3 separate regions of the Homo sapiens genome follow, and regions 2 and 3 are each linked to region 1. The links are contacts of gene promoters, found by promoter capture Hi-C in blood cells and fetal thymus (Javierre and others, 2016). All regions are on one chromosome and are shown on one strand. Each heading gives the region's core, a stretch centred on a gene start or on the middle of the fragment in contact. The rest is flanking DNA. Distances are from core to core; before and after follow the strand shown.

What was found. The method cuts DNA at HindIII sites, captures the fragments that hold promoters and counts their contacts. A CHiCAGO score of 5 or more calls a contact.
Region 2: a contact is called between a fragment that was not itself captured here and the fragment with the promoter of HSF2 in region 1, in 1 of 17 cell types (monocytes). The highest score is 6.4, in monocytes.
Region 3: a fragment that was not itself captured here is called in contact with the fragment with the promoter of HSF2 in region 1 in 1 of 17 cell types (monocytes); the score reaches 6.9 in monocytes.

The regions. Positions count from the first base shown.
Region 1 is chr6:122,397,623-122,401,583 of GRCh38, forward strand. HSF2 (heat shock transcription factor 2) reads left to right here and starts at 2,030. Exons shown (of 13, transcript NM_004506.4): 1 at 2,030-2,208. The coding sequence starts at 2,116. RefSeq lists silencers at 1,766-2,085, 2,356-2,475 and an enhancer at 2,326-2,825. The HindIII fragment of the contact is 3,471 bases long and covers 553-3,961 here.
Region 2 is chr6:122,751,899-122,755,859 of GRCh38, forward strand. It overlaps a transcript of FABP7 not described here. Among named protein-coding and RNA genes, the nearest start is that of FABP7, 26 kb to the right of the region's middle. RefSeq lists an enhancer at 3,810-3,961. The HindIII fragment of the contact is 4,567 bases long and covers 1-3,961 here.
Region 3 is chr6:122,716,164-122,720,124 of GRCh38, forward strand. PKIB (cAMP-dependent protein kinase inhibitor beta) reads left to right here. Exons shown (of 5, transcript NM_181795.3): 4 at 1,624-1,800. The coding sequence starts at 1,632. Among named protein-coding and RNA genes, the nearest start is that of FABP7, 62 kb to the right of the region's middle. The HindIII fragment of the contact is 1,051 bases long and covers 1,131-2,181 here.

The DNA.
Region 1 (3,961 bases), core at 780-3,279:
TGTTCAAAAACTGAGAATTTCAAGAGGATGAGAACAGAGCATTAAACTAAGTATGGCACCCCACTAAGCCCAGCCCTATGAATGCCCAGCCTTTGAATGTCCAAAGACAAGTTTCTGCTTCTATCTAATCACACCTTCTTTTTTTAGAAGAAAATAATATAATGCCATGAAAGTAGGCCACATTTCCTCCTTAGACACTGCCATTCTTACCTCCTGAGCTGTTGCCCTCCATAGACAGACATGATCATTAGCTTCCTGGTTTTTGCTCATTCTGTTGTCTTCCTTTTAGCTATTCAAATATATTTGTACCTCAAGACCCAACTTAAGGTCCCTATCTGCCATGAAATCCTTCCTTACCACCTTAACCTACTAATCTGTCTTTTTAAACTTATCTAGTACTTATTTTATACAAAACATTTAGCTCTTTTTGTATATATTGAGTGCTGATCACTGTGGTCATATTGTTTCTTGAGTTTGAATATAAGCATCTTGAGCTTTGAAACAGTGTCATCATTGTACAATGGAAAGGGCACATACTTTTGAGCTCAATAAAGCTTGGGTGTAAATACTCTCCCATTTACTTGCTGTGACTGAAGAAATTAATCAACTTTTGAGTCTCAGAATCTTCTCTGGGAAAATGGGATAATAAAACCTAGTTCATTGGGTTGTTGTGAGGATTCAATAATATATGTAAAGCCCTTGGCATATATAAGGGCTCATCAAATATTACTTCCTCTATCACATGCATGCCTCCATATATCTGATTTTGCTTCAGCCAACATCCCAGTGCTGAGCACAAAGGCAGCATTCACTAAATACTTGCTCATTGGAAGAGATATACATATATCTTCCATTAAATGATAGATATATATTTAATGTACTATTTTACATTCACCCAAGAAGTAAACCAATCCTATGTTGAAGTTTTGTATGTTATCTCTGACTTGTTTGTAAGTTTTTGCCTTCACATGCTGACTTTTGTAAAAAAAAAAAGTCGAATTTTGTAGACTTCATATTTTCAAAGCATTTGCACAGCCATTATAGTATTAAAGACACTCTTAGTGGGTAAAAAGATAGATCTTATTCCCAGTCAAGAAATGGAAAAAACTGGCACTGGTGGCTAAGGAATTGTTCTAAATGACAGAACCAGTGTATTTTAATATACAGAAAAATGTCCAAGAGGCTTTATCTAAACTGAGATCTACTGACTCCTTTTCCATTGTTTTTTCCACTATACCAATCTCTTAGGCAAAAAAGACTATATCTGTAAAGTATACGCAGGAAAAACTATTTTAATTAACTAAAATAGTACAAATGAGTCTATTTCTTTTTATTCTGGGTACAGAGTAGGCACTTGATGACTGGATTAAAAACAGCACATGATATATCAATTGCAGTTCCTGGTTTACAGTTTTAAGTAATCGAGAGTGAGTTATTTAAACTGCTCTTTTTGATAAACATATTTTAAAGAGGGCTTTTTCTCCCAATGAAAATGTAAGAACAAGTTTCATTATTTTTAAGACAATTTCAATTTGGGGCCTAGCACATCATGCTTGAGAGCTGGTTTTTTCCTTATGCAAATGGATCCTTTCTCTAAACTGGTGCAAACCACACTTTGCCTGCCAAACTTATGACTCAAAGGCCCTGAAGGGTTTCTGTAGCCTCCCAGCCACAGCCCAGAAACCATAAGCTGTTTCCACGTGAAACATCCAAACACGGTCTCCCAAGCCTAAGTCTGCTACCATCAAGGCTTCTGTATAAAAGGCAAATGAGGAGGCAGCGCCCCCTTCTGCTCCCACCCCCTTCTGCTCCCACCCCCTTCATGTCAGCAGCAGCCAATCGCTTTTCTCTGTCGTGCAGTCGGCTCCTGGGATTGGCCAGGGACGGGACAGGCGCGGAACCACTGCGCGCACAGGCGGAGCGCGGAGACTTGTCCGTCACGTGCGGCCGCCCGGCCTCTCGGCCTTGCCGCGCGCCTGGCGGGGTTGGGGGGGCGGGGACCAAGATCTGCTGCGCCTGCGTTGTGGGCGTTCTCGGGGAGCTGCTGCCGTAGCTGCCGCCGCCGCTACCACCGCGTTCGGGTGTAGAATTTGGAATCCCTGCGCCGCGTTAACAATGAAGCAGAGTTCGAACGTGCCGGCTTTCCTCAGCAAGCTGTGGACGCTTGTGGAGGAAACCCACACTAACGAGTTCATCACCTGGAGCCAGGTACGGTCAGGCCACGGCGGCCTCTGAACCCCCTGAATAACCGCCTCCTCACTCGCTCTCCTGCGGGGTGGTCTCTCGCGGCCTTGCGGCTCGACGCTGTCTGCGAGGCCCGCGGTGCGGGGCCTTGGCGTTCAGCCTCGCGGGGGACCCCCTGTATTGTTCGCTCGGGGAGCCGCGGGGGCCCGGCCGGCAGCGCCGCTCTCCTCAGGCCGCGGTGGGGGAGGGGCGGCCCGCGCGGGGCGTAGCGGCCCAGGCAGCCCCTTAACGGTCCGGTCCGCGTTCGGAACCGGCCCGGCGTCGCGAGGGGAATCGGCGAGCCGAGGGCGCGGGAGCCTCTTTACTGCACACTCATCCTCCGTCCTCCCGCCCGGCTCAGGGGTTACAAATCGCGGAGGGGACAGGGAGCCCAGGGCCAGGATCATCAACGTGGGGCTTTATAGGAGGCGATCTTTACCTCAGCGACCGATCACCCCCAGTTCCCCCAACATTGCTTTGCATCTGGCATCTTTATGTGGAGAGCAGTCAGGGCAATAGACATACGTTCAAACGCAGGTTACTGCTTATCAGTTGGTTTTAAAAATATATAGAAATTAACAAATTATTCTTTTGAGATTCTGTGCTATTTGTATAATGGGATTATTAGGATTGTTTTAATAAAGTACTAATAGGTGGTAACTTAGTAGTTACTAAATTTCGCTGAACAGTTACCAGCAGAGGGGCATATCGATGTGTTGATTATTGGTTTGATCTCAACTCTGCTTCTAAACAAGCATGACCTTAGTCCAGCCCTTTATCTTGTCTGGCCTAAGTTAAATCTTTCATAAGATGGATGGGTTGCCTAGGTGACCCAAGACCTATATCAGTCCCAAATACAAGATTTTAGGCAGAATGATTATTTACATCCACAGTGCATGTGCATTAGAATACACTCCTAGGCTGTTGGAATCATTTTTATGAAGGAAAGTGGTTAACTCTTATTGTAGATGATCACCTATTGAGGCATATTTTCATATGTGTAGTTCTTGAGAAGAATAAGTGAAAACTACCTGCATAGTGCCTGGCACCTGTTAAGTGCTGAGTAAATGTTATCTCCCGTCCTCCTTTCTTTCCTGTTCTCCTATTATAGGAACTCTTAGTTTTATTTACTTTTGTCTTAACAGGGAGTGAGCACCATATTAAGACCCTGAAGTTTTGACTTCTGTAATACCATAGTTTGCCTTGTGTTATTATTTGTTCTTTTTTCCGACTTCCTTCTAGGATTTAATTTTTGTGTGTTCTTTATGAGCAACTGAGTTATCCTTTTAGCCCCACTCCCTGCTTGGAGTTGAGTAGGGGGGCGTGAGTGTTTCTATTAAGCATTTAATGAATTCTGTACAATTGTACAAAGCTAGGTGAAAATAAGAAAGCCAGCCACTAGCATGTACTTAAAATAAACACATGTCTCATGCTTTTCATCAGTTAGAAGGATTAAAAGTTGACAAGAAGGATCAGTACAGACTGTTACTCAGACACGTATTCGTGTTAGAGATTGGACTGAGATTCTCTCCCCACGAAAGCTGACTTTATCATACCTTTTTGTCTTTTATGGGCCAGAAATAGGGGCTATATATATTGGCAGTTGCTTTTAATCAGAGTATCATGTCAGTGGTAGGCCTATTAAATTCTGATTAGCAACAGTGTTTTAATAACATTCTTATTTTCTGAGTACTGTCAAATGTGGAGAGTTTCGTACTGATCCGTAAATGCATCATTC
Region 2 (3,961 bases), core at 812-3,311, 350 kb after region 1:
CCCAACCCAGGTCATCTTTATTTCCTACAGATCTTATAAAACCTGAGCTGGAGGACTGGCTCTTATGTCAGCAGACATTCTCTCAGGCCCATTGTTTATATCCCTGGGTCCCCAAACCCAAATGCTTTGACTTCTGTAACTGAAAAACCACCACCCACCCCAGCTTTCCACCCCTAACCCCACCACCATCTCCCAATTTTCTTTGTTAGCAAACCTCCCCTAGCAACTTTTCTAATGTACTAATTTGATTGAGGAAAAGGCAAAGGAGCAAATATAAAAAAATCAATGATTTATATTTCAAAATGTTATTTTGTTCTAGTAACTCTGTGTTCTGAGGAAGAAAATTGACTTCTCATTTAGATGTGTTCATCCTTGCCTGCAATCTTTAAAAGGGTGAGAATTAGTTTTCTGTACAGAATCTATTTCACAAAAATAGTAAGTCCCTCAATCATGCATGCATGCACTCTGTGGTTCTATGGGTAATATTTCCTAACCCCTCTGCAGGGTTAAACCTAAATAGTGGGTTACATCTGCAATCTCTTTGGCTAGAATTGTCAACATTTTATATATAGGGGATTTCTTTCCTCTAAATGTTGGCCTAAGCCATTCCCACCCCCAACCTTACCCTCCTGGAGATATTGGCATGATGCTGGCTGAATTTCTCCTTTATGAATAAGCTCTGAGGAAACTTCTTGCATAAGGGGTGAAGAGTTGGTTTTTCTATAGATAGAATCTCTTGGACCTTTGTCTAAGCTAGTACACTTCTGAAAGTGAAAGGGGACACTTAATAATTATGCCAGGACACCATGGGTGAATTTGGATAGTCTCCAGCGAAGTAAGCCTTGTGGCTCTATTTAGAGTTTACAGACAGTGTAGTCTGTTTCCCAACCCAAAATTTTAGCCATCTCTACCCCCTCTACATTGTTATTGCCTAGTCTTTTGCCATCACCTGCTTAGTTCAAGAAAGTTATTAGTCAAGCTGAGGCTTGCATAGGGTTAGTGGTCTCTCTCTGGTTTGTTGAGTCCACTAACTAAGCCTGTGTTGTTTCCATTGTTTTTTGCTGTGGTTTCTTTAAGAGTCCCAGCTAAAGACAAAATGCCATTTTCATAAAGGCAAAGCAAAAGAAAGATGCTTACTCTAGACAAAATGCTTAGCAGCTCTCTGAAAAAAATTCTGTCTGCGAGACTAACCGTTTCTCTCTGGCTTTATAATGAAATTCCAATTCCTCTTCAAAAACAAGATCTGTCTCCCAGCAGGTGCCCAGGCCACTGCTTTCTGGCAGCCCTGCAGGGTAACTTGGGCTATCTGTATTGCTGTGCCTTTGTAGATATCTGTTTCGGAAATTCAGAACTTCAAGAATGGGCTCTAAAGATAATTTTCACCCCTCCCTAAGTGTTCTCCACTGATTTAGCAAATTGAATCTTGGCAATTTACAAGGCTCTGCTGCCTCTTGTTTCTTTCTTTACATAGACTTCTGTGCATCTACTCAGAAAATTGAAAGCATTCAGTAATTCGCTCACACTCAGTCTCATCACTGTCTACTGGTTTATCTAGAACCGTATTGACCTTGGAGTCTGCCTCCTCCCCAAGTTCTCGCCCATCTGTCACCTCAAGATGACTTGCTGTGGTGCACATATTTGTCATGGATGAGCTCCTACACACAGTGGGTACTGTCACCGATAGAGGGTCATGACTGCAGGTTGTCCAGGTTCTTGGCATTTTGAACAAAGAATTGGATAAAACGCCCAGCAAAACGAAGGAATGAAGCAACAAAAGAACGAAAGCAGGGATTTATTGAAAATGAAAGTACACTCCACAGTGTGGAAGTGGACTCGAGCAGCAGCTTAAGGGCCTGGATACAGAATCTTCTTGGGTCCAAATCCCGCCCCCCCCCCGCCCACAGAAGTTTTCCATTGGCCACTTCATGCTCACCTCATGTAACTGAAGTGGTAGCTGGCAATCAGTCTGATTGGTTGCAGACAGCTACCATTCAGAGGCTGGAGTGAAGTTACAAAGTTGCAAACAAAGACCAGACGGGCACTCAGGATAATTTGTTGCCAGTCTTCCATCTGCCACGCAGAAAAGGTCAAAGGGAGAAGCCTCTGGTCCTTTTATTACTTAGGCATGGAAAGTTAGGGTTTTCCTTTCAATTTAGTTATAGGAAGTCAGCATGAAACAGCCTTAGGTTCCCTGCCTTCAGACCCTATTCTCCTGCCTCAGGTACCATTATCAGCTCACAACACTTAGCTGTATAAGAAATATAATTTTATTTTTCTAAATTTAAACTTAGTTTTAAATAGGAGTTCCACAAAGTGGTTTCTGCCTAATCTTTTTCAATCCTAGATAAGCTCAGTTCACTTAAGGATGGTCTTCAGTTGATGAATGTGTTATATTTCATAGAGAAAATTAAACAAATATTTCCTCATCTTCTTCCACCAAACCACCAGCTTCCTGCTTCAGTGTCCACGTGCTCTGCCTTCCTCCTCCCTATTTCAATGGAAGAAATGTCTCCATGCCTGAGGCAAGTCCTCCACTGTGCTGCAGCTCTCAGACGCTTCCAACTTCTGGACGACTTTTCTGAAATGATCCACCTTTTCTTCATTTGCCCCAAGACCTTCAAGATCTCAACTTTTGTCAAAGGTTCAGGCTTCTTAAACTGAAAAACATTCGCTTTAAAACTCCTTCCTCCCATGCTCCCCATCCCCCCACCCCCCACCCACTTTTCAGTGGTAACAATGGGTGTTTTGTCCAATTCATTCAGATCATTGTTTCCTTCTGTCTCTGTGTAGCCTCCTTTGAAGTACATGTGCTAAGACTATCCTCTTTTCCGTCCCCACTTGTTAGCCTAAGAACTTCCCCTCATACCTCTTGATTTCATGAAAATTGAATTACCTGGCTCACCACCTATCTCTTAAACTCAGCATCATTTTCATAGCCCTCGCACCCACACAGAAGATCTATCCAACTCCCAGGACTTGCAGTTCCCTGGTGTCCCTTTCAATTACAATGTTCTCCACCTAAACTCACCAACCTTTCTACTGGTTATTTCCCAGGTATTGACATCACCACTAACTGTACCACTCCCAGATTCTCATTCTCTAACAATCACTTTTTTTTTTTTCCAGTTCACTACTTCCAATAGTGCTACTCCAAAAGGCTTTAACACCAGGGATTTCTAATCAATTTACTCTACCATTTCTTCCCTGTGTCCTCTCTCTCTCACTTACTCACCTTGCCAATACTTGGCTTATATGCCATGATCTATTGCTGTACTTCCTTGCATATATCATAAAGTCACTTGACCCTTTCTCTCTCCATTGTCCTCACCAAGTGAAACTCAACCCTAGCAAAATTCATCTCTCTTCCTACTCTGGGCTGCATTTGAACACTAAAAAACATGTACTTCTTTTTATTATTAATTTACATTTACGTTACATCTCATTATAATATAGTATGAACTATTATATTATAAAATATATTATAAAGTGTGAATTTTTACTTATAACCTTGATTCTTAAGTGAGAATTCAACATTTTCTACTCCTCCCAATATGTTTTGTATTTTTTTTTTTTTTTTTGAGACGGAGTCTCGCTCTGTAGCCCAGGCTGGAGTGGTGCAATCTCGGCTCACTGCAAGCTCTGCCTCCCGGGTTCACGCCATTCTCCTGCCTCAGCCTCCCGAGTAGCTGGGACTACAGGCGCCTGCCACCACGCCCGGCTAATTTTTTTTTTTAATTTTTAGTAGATATGGAGTTTCACCGTGTTATCCAGGATGGCCTTGATCTCCTGACCTTGTGATCTGCCCGCCTCAGCCTCCCAAAGTGCTGGGATTACAAGCATGAGCCACCGCGCGTGGCCTCCTCCCAGTATGTTTCTTGAATGAATACCTTCCCAATTTCTATGAGGTGCTGGGTCTGACCAGCAGACCCCAGCCAAACGACAGATGAAAAAATTCACACAG
Region 3 (3,961 bases), core at 406-2,905, 320 kb after region 1:
AATGATGCCAACAATCAGACATATACCTTATAGTTACAAAGAGTTCATTTATTCTTTATCTCATTATTGCTTCACCAGCATCCTGTGAATCCATAGGCTAATTGCTATGCCCGTTATATAGGGGAGGAACTGTGACTCAGAGAAATTAAATGGATTGAACAATATCACCTTCCAAGTCTATAATGGAGCACATTCTTTTTGACCAATAGTCTAGTGCTCTTTACAGTACTCTAAGATATCTATACATTCTCCACAGTTGCCAAATACCAAGCAGTTAAAAGTCTAATGGATTCCAAAATTGTATCTCAAAACATAGCTCTGTTCTCAAATTTCCCATGATTCCTGGAAAGACAATAATATCTATGGAATTAATAGAATGACTCTTTTTTGGGCAATTCCAAACTATTCCTGGACTCCTAAGGACCATGCTAAGCTCAATTTGCATTTCTTGCATTCTATGAACCAAAAATATTGTTTCTAATGTCAAATGCACCATGTTTTGTGACTATGCCATTTAGTGTTTAGCATTTCCTGAATTGAAGTTACTCCCTCCAACTACCATGAAAAGTTGGATTTGTTCTGTGTAGCCCAAGGTTTACATATTTCTGCCCTTTTTAGGTATCACAAATGAGCATCTCCATCCTTCGGTCAATACTTAGTGCATTCTGTGTTAGGGTGTCTATCTCTGCAGGCATATATTTTCTCTCCCTTTTGAGAGTGCAAGTTCCCTAAAGATGGAAAGTATACCATACGTCTGTACTCTCAGGCCTAGCTGAGAGGCTAGCATTACATAGCTTTTCAATACAATGCTTCTGCTTTCGAGATGCTATTCAGAGTTGACTTCTCAGGAGAGATTCATTCCAAAACATAATAAAAAGGTCAGTTTTAGAGTAAGCAATAACTGTTACCTTCCTCCCTTTATAGTGAATGATCTCTTGAGAATTCTTTCTTAGAGAGAGACAATTGCTAGGGAGATAAAGGGTGCTTAGGAAAGAACTAGTAATTACCATGTCAACCTGAAGGTAAAAAAACCTAAAATAGGTCCTACTCTTCAACCATTACCATGAGTCTATCGAAAATTAGGTCTCAGACCAGAACAGATCAAAATATTTAGTGCTCTCTAGGGAAAAAGCTTTTGAGATAAAGTGGAATTTCTTATTTCTAAGAAGTAGGAAAAGAGTGTTTTGTTTGGTCTCTACAAATTATAGTTATTTGGTTTCAGCCTGAACAATCACCACAAGCAAATACTGGCAGAAAGAGTCTCTACAGGAGTGGTCAAAAAAGTCAGTTTTCATTTCCTTCCAAGCCCTAGTTTGGCTGATCCATCCACAGAAAAGCAGAACAAAAGGCAAGGGATTACTGCACCCTTAAGCATCCAAGTGGCTCATTCGGCTCAGGGGTTATTTTTAGCAATCTGGCTCACACTGAGGGCTTCCTGCTCTATTCAGCAAATGTGCAAATGGATGCTGCAGGACCGTAACAGTAGACATTGATGAAGGTTGTGATCAATGATTAGACTCTCAAGCCTGTTGTGTTTTTGATCTAGCCATGCCTTTCAACCACTGTGGTGAACATTTACTTCTGAATAGGCTCATCTTCTTCATATGCACATTCTATTTGTAGATGTTGCTATGAGGACAGATTCATCAAAAATGACTGACGTGGAGTCTGGGGTCGCCAATTTTGCATCTTCAGCAAGGGCAGGCCGCCGGAATGCCTTACCAGACATCCAGAGTTCAGCTGCCACAGACGGAACCTCAGATTTGCCCCTCAAACTGGAGGCTCTCTCCGTGAAGGAAGGTAATACTCAAAATCCTCTTACAATTAACAGCACTTGTCCCTTCTTAACCAAGCCTTTTCTCTGGACAGTCTTTCTTTTATCTAGTTAAAAGTGCTCAGTTTCCTTATTTGTTTACTTAAACCTCTCAGCTTTTGTTTAAGGCTTAGTAGATGTTCAGCCTTTTCCAAAGTAGAATATTTCATCTTTTTTCTTATGCTGTGTATGTGGAAACTGAAGTTTTATTTATTCATTGCATGTGTATAGTCATGCACAAAGCTAGTAATTGGGAATACAAAGGTGAACAAATATGATCTTTCTCTCAATGAGCTTTCAAGTTTATTAAGAAGTATTCATAAATAAAATAATTTTTCTTCTGCCATCCATTGACAAATCACTTTGGAAGCTTCTGCTTCACTGTAGTGTGCTACAAGCCCTTTAATTTTCAAATCTAGGAAGAAGTTTACTATCAAGTAGAGATGAGATTCTTTCAACAGAATTTTTGTATAAAAGGTGATACTTTATATGAAAGTATAAGGATACTTTAAATAAAGTGTTAAAAGGTGCCTTTCATTTAAAAACCCTCATGGAGATTTAAAAAAACAAAACAAAACCCTGAATCAAAGTTAAAAAATACACTCAGAGAGATTAAAGATCATTTTAGTTCCAAGCCATTAGCAAAATACTCACGTTTTGTGCCCCATTTTAGACTCTCAGGTGGACTCTAGTGTATGTTTGGGAATTTATTCTTGGTGACAATGAAGCAAGTGAGAACCAGAAGCCGCTTGCATCTAACCCATTCCCGGGAGCCCAAGAAGAAGGCTCTTGGTTCTTTGCTTCAGGAGGTTATTTACTACCTGGTAAAGTTGCAAATGTTCCTGGTTCATTCTCTATGAAATAGTTATATCCTTGTAGGCCAGGAGCTGTGACCAGATCCTGCAGTTCCATGATTACCTCATCTTTTTCCAAAGGCCACTATTTCTCATATGCAACACTATAGGTGAGAGTAAAAAAGCATACACATCAACGTAAAATATTATAAGAAGAATGAAAAGAAGGAAAAGATAAGGGAAGAAAGAAATAAACATATATGTAATGTTTTTGGCCTTTTAAGTTTGAAAATGTAATATGACCATAGGAAGATGTCGTTGCTGTTCAAGAGTCCATTCTAAACTAGTGAGGTAGAGAAGGCAATTACTTGTTCGTGTAAAAACCGTAATTAAATTTTATACACCTTCAACACACACAAAACCTTAATGTTTACTGACATTACTTAATCAAGCAAAAGAGAGCAAATACACTGTGGGAGAGTCAGCAGTGTTCTCCATTTTATTTTGGTCACTAGAGAGACTAGGATCTGAAAGAATATGTTCCTGTTTTTATATTTTTCTTCATATCATTTTGAAATAAAGTCAAAGGCATCAATTAAGAAACTGAAAATGTTAAAGATGAATTTACAAATAACACCAGATGCTAAAGATTACACAAAAGGGTGAAGGCAAGTTGTAAAGTGAAATATGCCAGGCACAGAAAGGTAAATACCACATGATCTTATTCATGGAATCTGAAAGAGACAAACTGCTAGAATCAGAGAGTAGAATGGTAGCTACCAGGAAAATTAGGAAAATGATGGTCAAAAGAGATAAAATTACAATTAGACAGGAGAAGTAAGTTCAGGGGATCTATTGTAGCAACATGATGACTATAGTTAATAACAATGTATTGTATACTTGAAGATTGCCAAGTGAGTAGATTGTGAGTGTTCCCACCACACATACACACACACACACACACACACACACACACACACACACACACACACACACACAAAGTATGTGAGGTAATGGATATGTTAATTAGCTTGATTTAGCCACTCCACAATGTATGCATGTATCAAAACATCATGTTGCACAACAACATAAATATATATAATTTTTATTTGTCAATGAAAAATTAAAGAGTAGAAAAAATACACAGAAGGATATAGGCTTACATAGGTAGATGACATAGATAATATTTTATTAACAAAGTCACAAGTAAGCAGTTTGAAGGCTTATTTTTTTCTCATTAGCTAAGCATAGATGTTATTATGAATTTTAAAATGAATGGTTTCCAGTTGCTAATGAAAACTGAAAGCGGGAGTCTGTCTCAGATGTTATGGTTTCAATAATTTATTCACTTAAA